Linked DNA regions of Homo sapiens: region 2 is linked to region 1. The links are contacts of gene promoters, found by promoter capture Hi-C in blood cells and fetal thymus (Javierre and others, 2016). All regions are on one chromosome and are shown on one strand. The core of a region is centred on a gene start or on the middle of the fragment in contact, and the rest is flanking DNA. Distances in the headings are between cores, read along the strand shown. Region 1 holds the start of RIT1 (Ras like without CAAX 1). Region 2 overlaps GON4L (gon-4 like).

The links. Contacts are between HindIII fragments. The CHiCAGO score rates a contact against its expected background, and 5 or more counts as called.
Region 2: a fragment that was not itself captured here is called in contact with the fragment with the promoter of RIT1 in region 1 in 1 of 17 cell types (endothelial precursors); the score reaches 5.3 in endothelial precursors.

What each region holds. Positions count from the first base shown.
Region 1 is chr1:155,909,738-155,912,798 of GRCh38, forward strand. RIT1 (Ras like without CAAX 1) reads right to left here and starts at 1,612. Exons shown (of 6, transcript NM_006912.6): 1 at 1,506-1,612; 2 at 919-1,067; 3 at 713-769. The coding sequence starts at 1,024. The HindIII fragment of the contact is 5,298 bases long and covers 1-3,061 here.
Region 2 is chr1:155,800,673-155,803,733 of GRCh38, forward strand. The region is part of intron 11 of GON4L (gon-4 like); the gene reads right to left. Among named protein-coding and RNA genes, the nearest start is that of GON4L, 55 kb to the right of the region's middle. The HindIII fragment of the contact is 1,686 bases long and covers 665-2,350 here.

The sequences.
Region 1 (3,061 bases), core at 362-2,861:
ATAGTGAAATCCCATCTCTACTAAAAATACAAAAATTAGCCGGGTGTGGTGGCAGATGCCTGTAATCCCAGCTACTCAGGAGGCTGAGGCAGGAGAATTGCTTGAACCCGGGAGGCGGAGGTTACAGTGACCGGAGATCGCACCATTGCCCTCCAGCCTGGGAGACAGTGCGAGACTCCATCTCAAAAAAAAAAAAAAAACAACAGACAGACATGGGAGAAGACATTACTACGTAATGAACTTAAGGTATAAGGAAGTAAACCAAGAGCTCCAAGTGCAAGATGTCCAGGCTTGGCATGTCTGGGTTGTAAGAGTTCAGCAGCCTGGCTCTACTTGTTTCTCTGCTTCCTTTTGTGGAAGTTCAAACCAGCTGACTCACAGTTACAGAGCGAGTCTCAAGTCATACCCTTAGAGAAGTGACAGCAAGAAAAGGCTTCGTTAAGTGGCCTGTATACAACCATAAAAAAATACAACAAAGAGAGTTGTCCCATTAATGTTCAGTAAGAGACAAAGACTAAAGATGGCTTATGACATAAAGTCTGAAAAAAAAAGAAATATTCAGTTGCTTACCAACTGCTGATACCCTTGTTTCTAAATAAATCTGAATTAGACTCCAAAAAAGCCTCAAAATATAAATAGTTAGAAACTACTGATATTCATTAAGATATTTTTATGGGGTATATTTGGAAACATAAGTGATGATCTGGCTTACCAATGGTGGGATCATGATCTTCTGGGAATCGGTGGCTGATGAACTGCATGGTCATGGCTTCAAAAGAAGAAATAAAAGTCAAATCCTCACAAAGGTGACCCACAGAGAGAATTTTAAGTATTAACATTGCAAGATAGCAAGTATCCCATCTGGTCATTTAAGTACTTTTCATCCATGCTTCCTGTCAAATGGAAAATGTTACCTACCACTCTTCCCTACACCACCAGCACCCAGCATCACTAGTTTGTACTCCCGTGAGAGCCCAGCGGGGCTGCTACAGCAGCTACCAACTGGGCGAGTTCCAGAATCCATTGTCCTCTTGGGGCCTTCCTCGGTTGCCCCGAGGAAAAGCCACCTAGAAAAGGAGGAGGAAATGCTTAATCCAGGATGGAGACACCACGGCGACAGCCCTCAAGCCAGTGCCTTACCTTTCCATACATATTCTGGCCTGTCCCTCTTACTCTGGCCTGTCCCTCTTGCTCACCACTGCACCCTTTCGGGTGGCCCTAAGAAACCCCCCCATCTTCACCCTCCCTCCTAGACAGTTCAGTCACATGACACATCACAGGTTTTACTTTTTCCAAAGAGAAAAATAAAAAGATACAAATAAATTTACGTCTCGGCACAGTAGGGACAAGGAGAAAGTTTTGGGAAGAAAGGGATGCGGCCCCTTAGGCCGCAGGGGTTCTCTCACGTCTGCGGTACCCAGAGGTTCCGCCCCCTCCCCATTCTCCTCCGAACCCCCTCCCCACCCCCAGCTGCTGCTCCGCCGCCAGACTCCCCACCCCTCTACCTCACAAGCCGACGCCCTGCTGCTCCTACTGGTCAGTGGGGACTGGAACACCACAGCCGGTCGGGTCACGCACTTCGTCTTCCTTCACTCGCGGAGGCTCCGGCACTGACCTGTGACCCCTCCCGCAACCGAGTAAGATGGCGCCACCGGCGCCCGAGTCGCGGAAGGAGGGGCGGGGCCACTCAGTGACGCCCACAGCCTGCCCCGCCCTCTTCCCGCCCCTCCCAGGTCCCTAAAACCCAGTTCCGGGACCCACCGCTGAAGGTCCTCTGGTCACCTACCCAACCTAGGGTGTATGCACTCACAGACAAGGGTATTTAATCACGAGTAGAAAGTAAATTATTTACACAAAAGGGAAGGGAGTACGTGATAAGAGACATGCAGGGACACTTAAATTAACAACTTACCGAGGGTTGTTTGCTGCTTGTGGGAAAAAAAAAAACCCAAAACTAATTTGACCCAATGTAATGAGAGGAAGGGAGGACAGGGGCACCCCCCAAATCCTCCTAAAACACAGGATTTCAGTCAAGTCTACCGGGGATGACTACTCATAGGAGAAAAATGACTTTCCTAAAGGAGCGGCCACAATGACTTTTGCTATTGAAACCTAAATTCATTCTCAGAAACCAGATGTTCACAACACTCCCTAATCAGAGTTCTGTATGTATTTTAAACACGTATAAGACACACAAAAACTTGTTTTAAATAAATGTACCACACTCTGGCAGGAAAGAGAGCTCTGAGTTAACAGAGGCCTTGAGTTAAATACAGAACTGAAGCGCAGCCACTATAACCATATTCCCCTCTATTTACGTAGCACAGGTGCTAGAAGAAACTGACACGAAAATTGTTCTCATGCAGCTCTGCCTACCACTGTTCTTTTTAAATGTCTTTCTGGGCCGGGCGGGCGCGGTGGCTCACACCTGTAATCCCAGCACTCTGGGAGGCCGAGGCAGGTGAGTCATGAGGTCAAGAAATAAGAGACCATCCTGGCCAACATGTAAAACCGTCTCTACTAAAAATACAAAAGAATTAGCTGGGTGTGGTGGCATGCGCCTATAAGTCCCAGCTACTCGGGAGGCTGAGGCAGGAGAATCACTTGAACCTGGGAGGTGGAGGTTGCAGTTAGCTGGCTGAGAGGGTGCCACTGCACTCCAGCCTGGCAACAGAGCAAAACTCCGTCTCAAAATTTAAGTCTTTCTGGCCAGGAGTGCTGGCTCACGCCTGTAATCCCAGGACTTTGGGAGGCTGAAGTGGGCTGATCACTTGAGGATCAGGAGTTCAAGACCAGCCTGGCCAAAATGGTGACTCCCTGTCTCTACTAAAAATATAAAAATTAGTTGGGCATGGTGGTAGGTGCCTATAATCCCAGCTACTCAGGAGGCTGAGGCTGGAGAACCACTTGAACCCAGGAGGTTGCGGTGAGCCAGGATTGCACCATTCCACTCCAGCCTGGGTGACAGAGCGAGACTCCATCTCAAAAAAAAATAAAATGTCTTTCCAAGAATAACATATTTCCTTTAAAACCCGCTTCATTCATGAAGTCCTTTTAATAC
Region 2 (3,061 bases), core at 258-2,757, 110 kb before region 1:
GAAACCCCATCTCTACTAAAAACACAAAAATTAGCTGGGCATGGTAGCGCGTACCTGTAGTCCCAGCTACTCTGGAGGCTGAGGCAGAAGAGTCGCTTGAACCCGGGTGGAGGTTGCAGTGAGCAGGGATTGTGCCACTGCACTCTAGCTTGGGCAACAGAGCCAGACTCTGTCTCAGAAAAAAAAAAAAAAAAAAAAAGGTTTAACTTACCGTGAAACCTGTCTGATTGAGACATGTTCCTAGAATATTAAACTGGGTTCTACTCCTAGGAGTATAACAAATTGATTCTGTAACTTTGAGCAAGACAATGAATTTCTCTGAGATTTCACTGCCTACAAAGTGGTTAGAACTATCTGTCCTTGGGCAACCCACTCGGGTCCCCTACCACGTTGTGGAAACTTTGTTCTTTAACTCTTCACAATAAATCTTGCTGCTGCTCAAAAAAAAAAAAAAAAAAAAAAAGAACTCTCTGTCCTGTCTATTCCTTTTTGTGGAGATTTCTGAACCTGGTAGAAACAGGAAGTGTCAATAAACTTTAAAAGATATGTATCTCCCAAAAATCATATAAAAATTTCATGTATTTGGATATGTACATTTTTTTCTGGGGGAAGGCTGCATAGTTTTCATCAGATTGTCAAAGGGGTGAGTAATGGAAAACTCAGAAGCTTAGACTCCTATCAGAATGACTAATGGGATAATATATCAGTTGCTAATTATGAAGGAACTGATTCTATACTTTGCATGTTAATGACTCAGCTTCAAACTCCATCTTTTTCTCCTTACACAATTTTTTTCATTTTGTGGCTTGTTAGCCCCTCTACTACAGAGGGTGGGTAAAAAAAAGAAATATGATAAGATTTAAAACAATTTGCTTCTTGTTATTTTCTCTCTCTTTTTTAAAATTTTATTTTATTTTAAAAATAGAAATGCCAGGTGCGGTGGCTCATGCCTGTAATCCCAGCATTTTGGGAGGCCAAGGAGGGTGGATCACCTGAGGTCAGGAGTTTGAGACCAGTCTGACCAATATGGTGAAACCCTGTCTCTACTAAAAATACAAAGATTAGCCAGGCAAGGTGGCAGGCGCATGTAATCCCAACTACTGGGGAGGCTGAGACAGGAGAATCGCTTGAACCCAGTAGGCAGAGGTTGCAGTGAGCCGAGATCACACCACTGCACTCCAGTCTGGGCGACAGAGCGAGACTCTGTCGAAGAAAAAAAAAATAGAAATGAGGTCTCACTGTGTTTCCCAGGCTGGTCTTGACTTCCTGGCCTCAAGCAATCCTCATGCCTTGGCTTCCCATAGTACTGGGATTACAGGCATGAGCCACCACGCCTGGACTATCTTTTCTAAATGTTTGAGAAAAGTCTTAAATTTAAATTTAGGACTAAAATTTAATTATTTTTATCCCCACATTAATGTGGAAAACTAAAAAGTAACTACACATTGAAAACTCTCACAGATGCATACCAAAGTATTATCAGTAGTCCCTCTGGGGAACCAAACTTGAACCTTGGTGTCAAAGGCTTTGGAAATGACTGGTAGGAAAATGAAGTGCCAATAAATAAACTCTAAGAGATACATAAACCCCAAAAAAATCATATGAAAAATTTCATGTATGTAGATATGTACATTTTCCTTGGGGGGGGGGAAGGCTTTAATTGTTTTATTTCTGTAATATTTGATTTCTTTATACCAAGCATATATTACTCTTACAGTTTTACAGTGAAAAAAGAGAAAACTCTGGAAAGAATATATCCTACAGAATCCAGCATATAGAGTATATCATGTCACTTCTACTCAGATGCCTTCTCTCTTCCCTGTCACTGTTTTCAAAAATCTTTCCAAGGTCCATTTCAATTACCAGCTCTTTCATGTAGCTGTCTCTGATCATCCTAAACAAAAGTTACCCTGTCCTCTTCTAAAATCTTACAACAGCATTTATGCCACTTTGATGGCATATCTGAGTTTATTCAACAACTTCATTCATTTACAATATACTGGCTGAGCGCGATGGCTCACTCCTGTAATCTCAGCACTTTGGAAAGCAGAGGCAGGAGGATCGCTTGAGCGCAGGAGTTCGAGACCAGCCTGGGCAACATGGCAAAACCCCAACTCTACAAAAAATACAAAAATTGGCCGGGCATGATGGCACAAACCTGTATTCCCAGCTATTTAGAAGGCTGAGGTGGGAGAATTGCTTGCGCCAAGGAGGTCAAGGCTGCAGTGAGCTAAGATCTCACCACTGCACTCCAGCCTGGGTGACAGAGTGAGACCCTGTCTCACACACACACAAAAAAGTACAATGTATTGTGAACCTAACAATGGGCCAGGCACCCTGTCATTCATAAAGCTTTTATTCCATGACCAAATGATTATGCTCCTTTATCCCTCACAGATTCTAGCACAATGCCTTGTATAAAGAAAGTACTCAAACATTTGCCAAATGATATACTATATAACTATTAATAGTATCATAAGGTACATTCAAGGACCTGTTATTTTCTTTCATTCACTTATCCTGACTTACTCCTAGCATTACCTACCCAGCCATTTACTCAGTCTATTTCTTTTTCTTTTTTTTTTTTTTTTGAGATGGAGTCTCGCTCTGTTGCCAGGCTGGAGCGCAGTGGCGCAATCTCGGCTCGCTACAACCTTCGCCTGCCAGGTTCAAGTGATTCTCCTGCCTCAGCCTCCTGAGTAGCTGGGACTACAGGCGTGCACCACCACGCCCAGCAAATTTTTTTATTTTTAGTAGAGACAGGGTTTCACCCTGTTGGCCAGGATGGTCTCAATCTCTTGACCTTGTGATCCGCCCGCCTCGGCCTCCCAAAGAGCTGGGATAATAGGTGTGAGCCACCACGCCCAGCCTACTTAGTCTGTTTCCATCCAAACTTTTATCTGATCAATATTTCTTCCCCATTTCTGATAATACCATTACTTCTTTAGGGTCACCACATACTTCAACCACACTGTTCTATGAGGTGCTATCAATCACCAGACTCCATGCTGAACAGTCTCCCTATCAATCCCATGTAGTACCAAGAGACTGGGCATGAGAT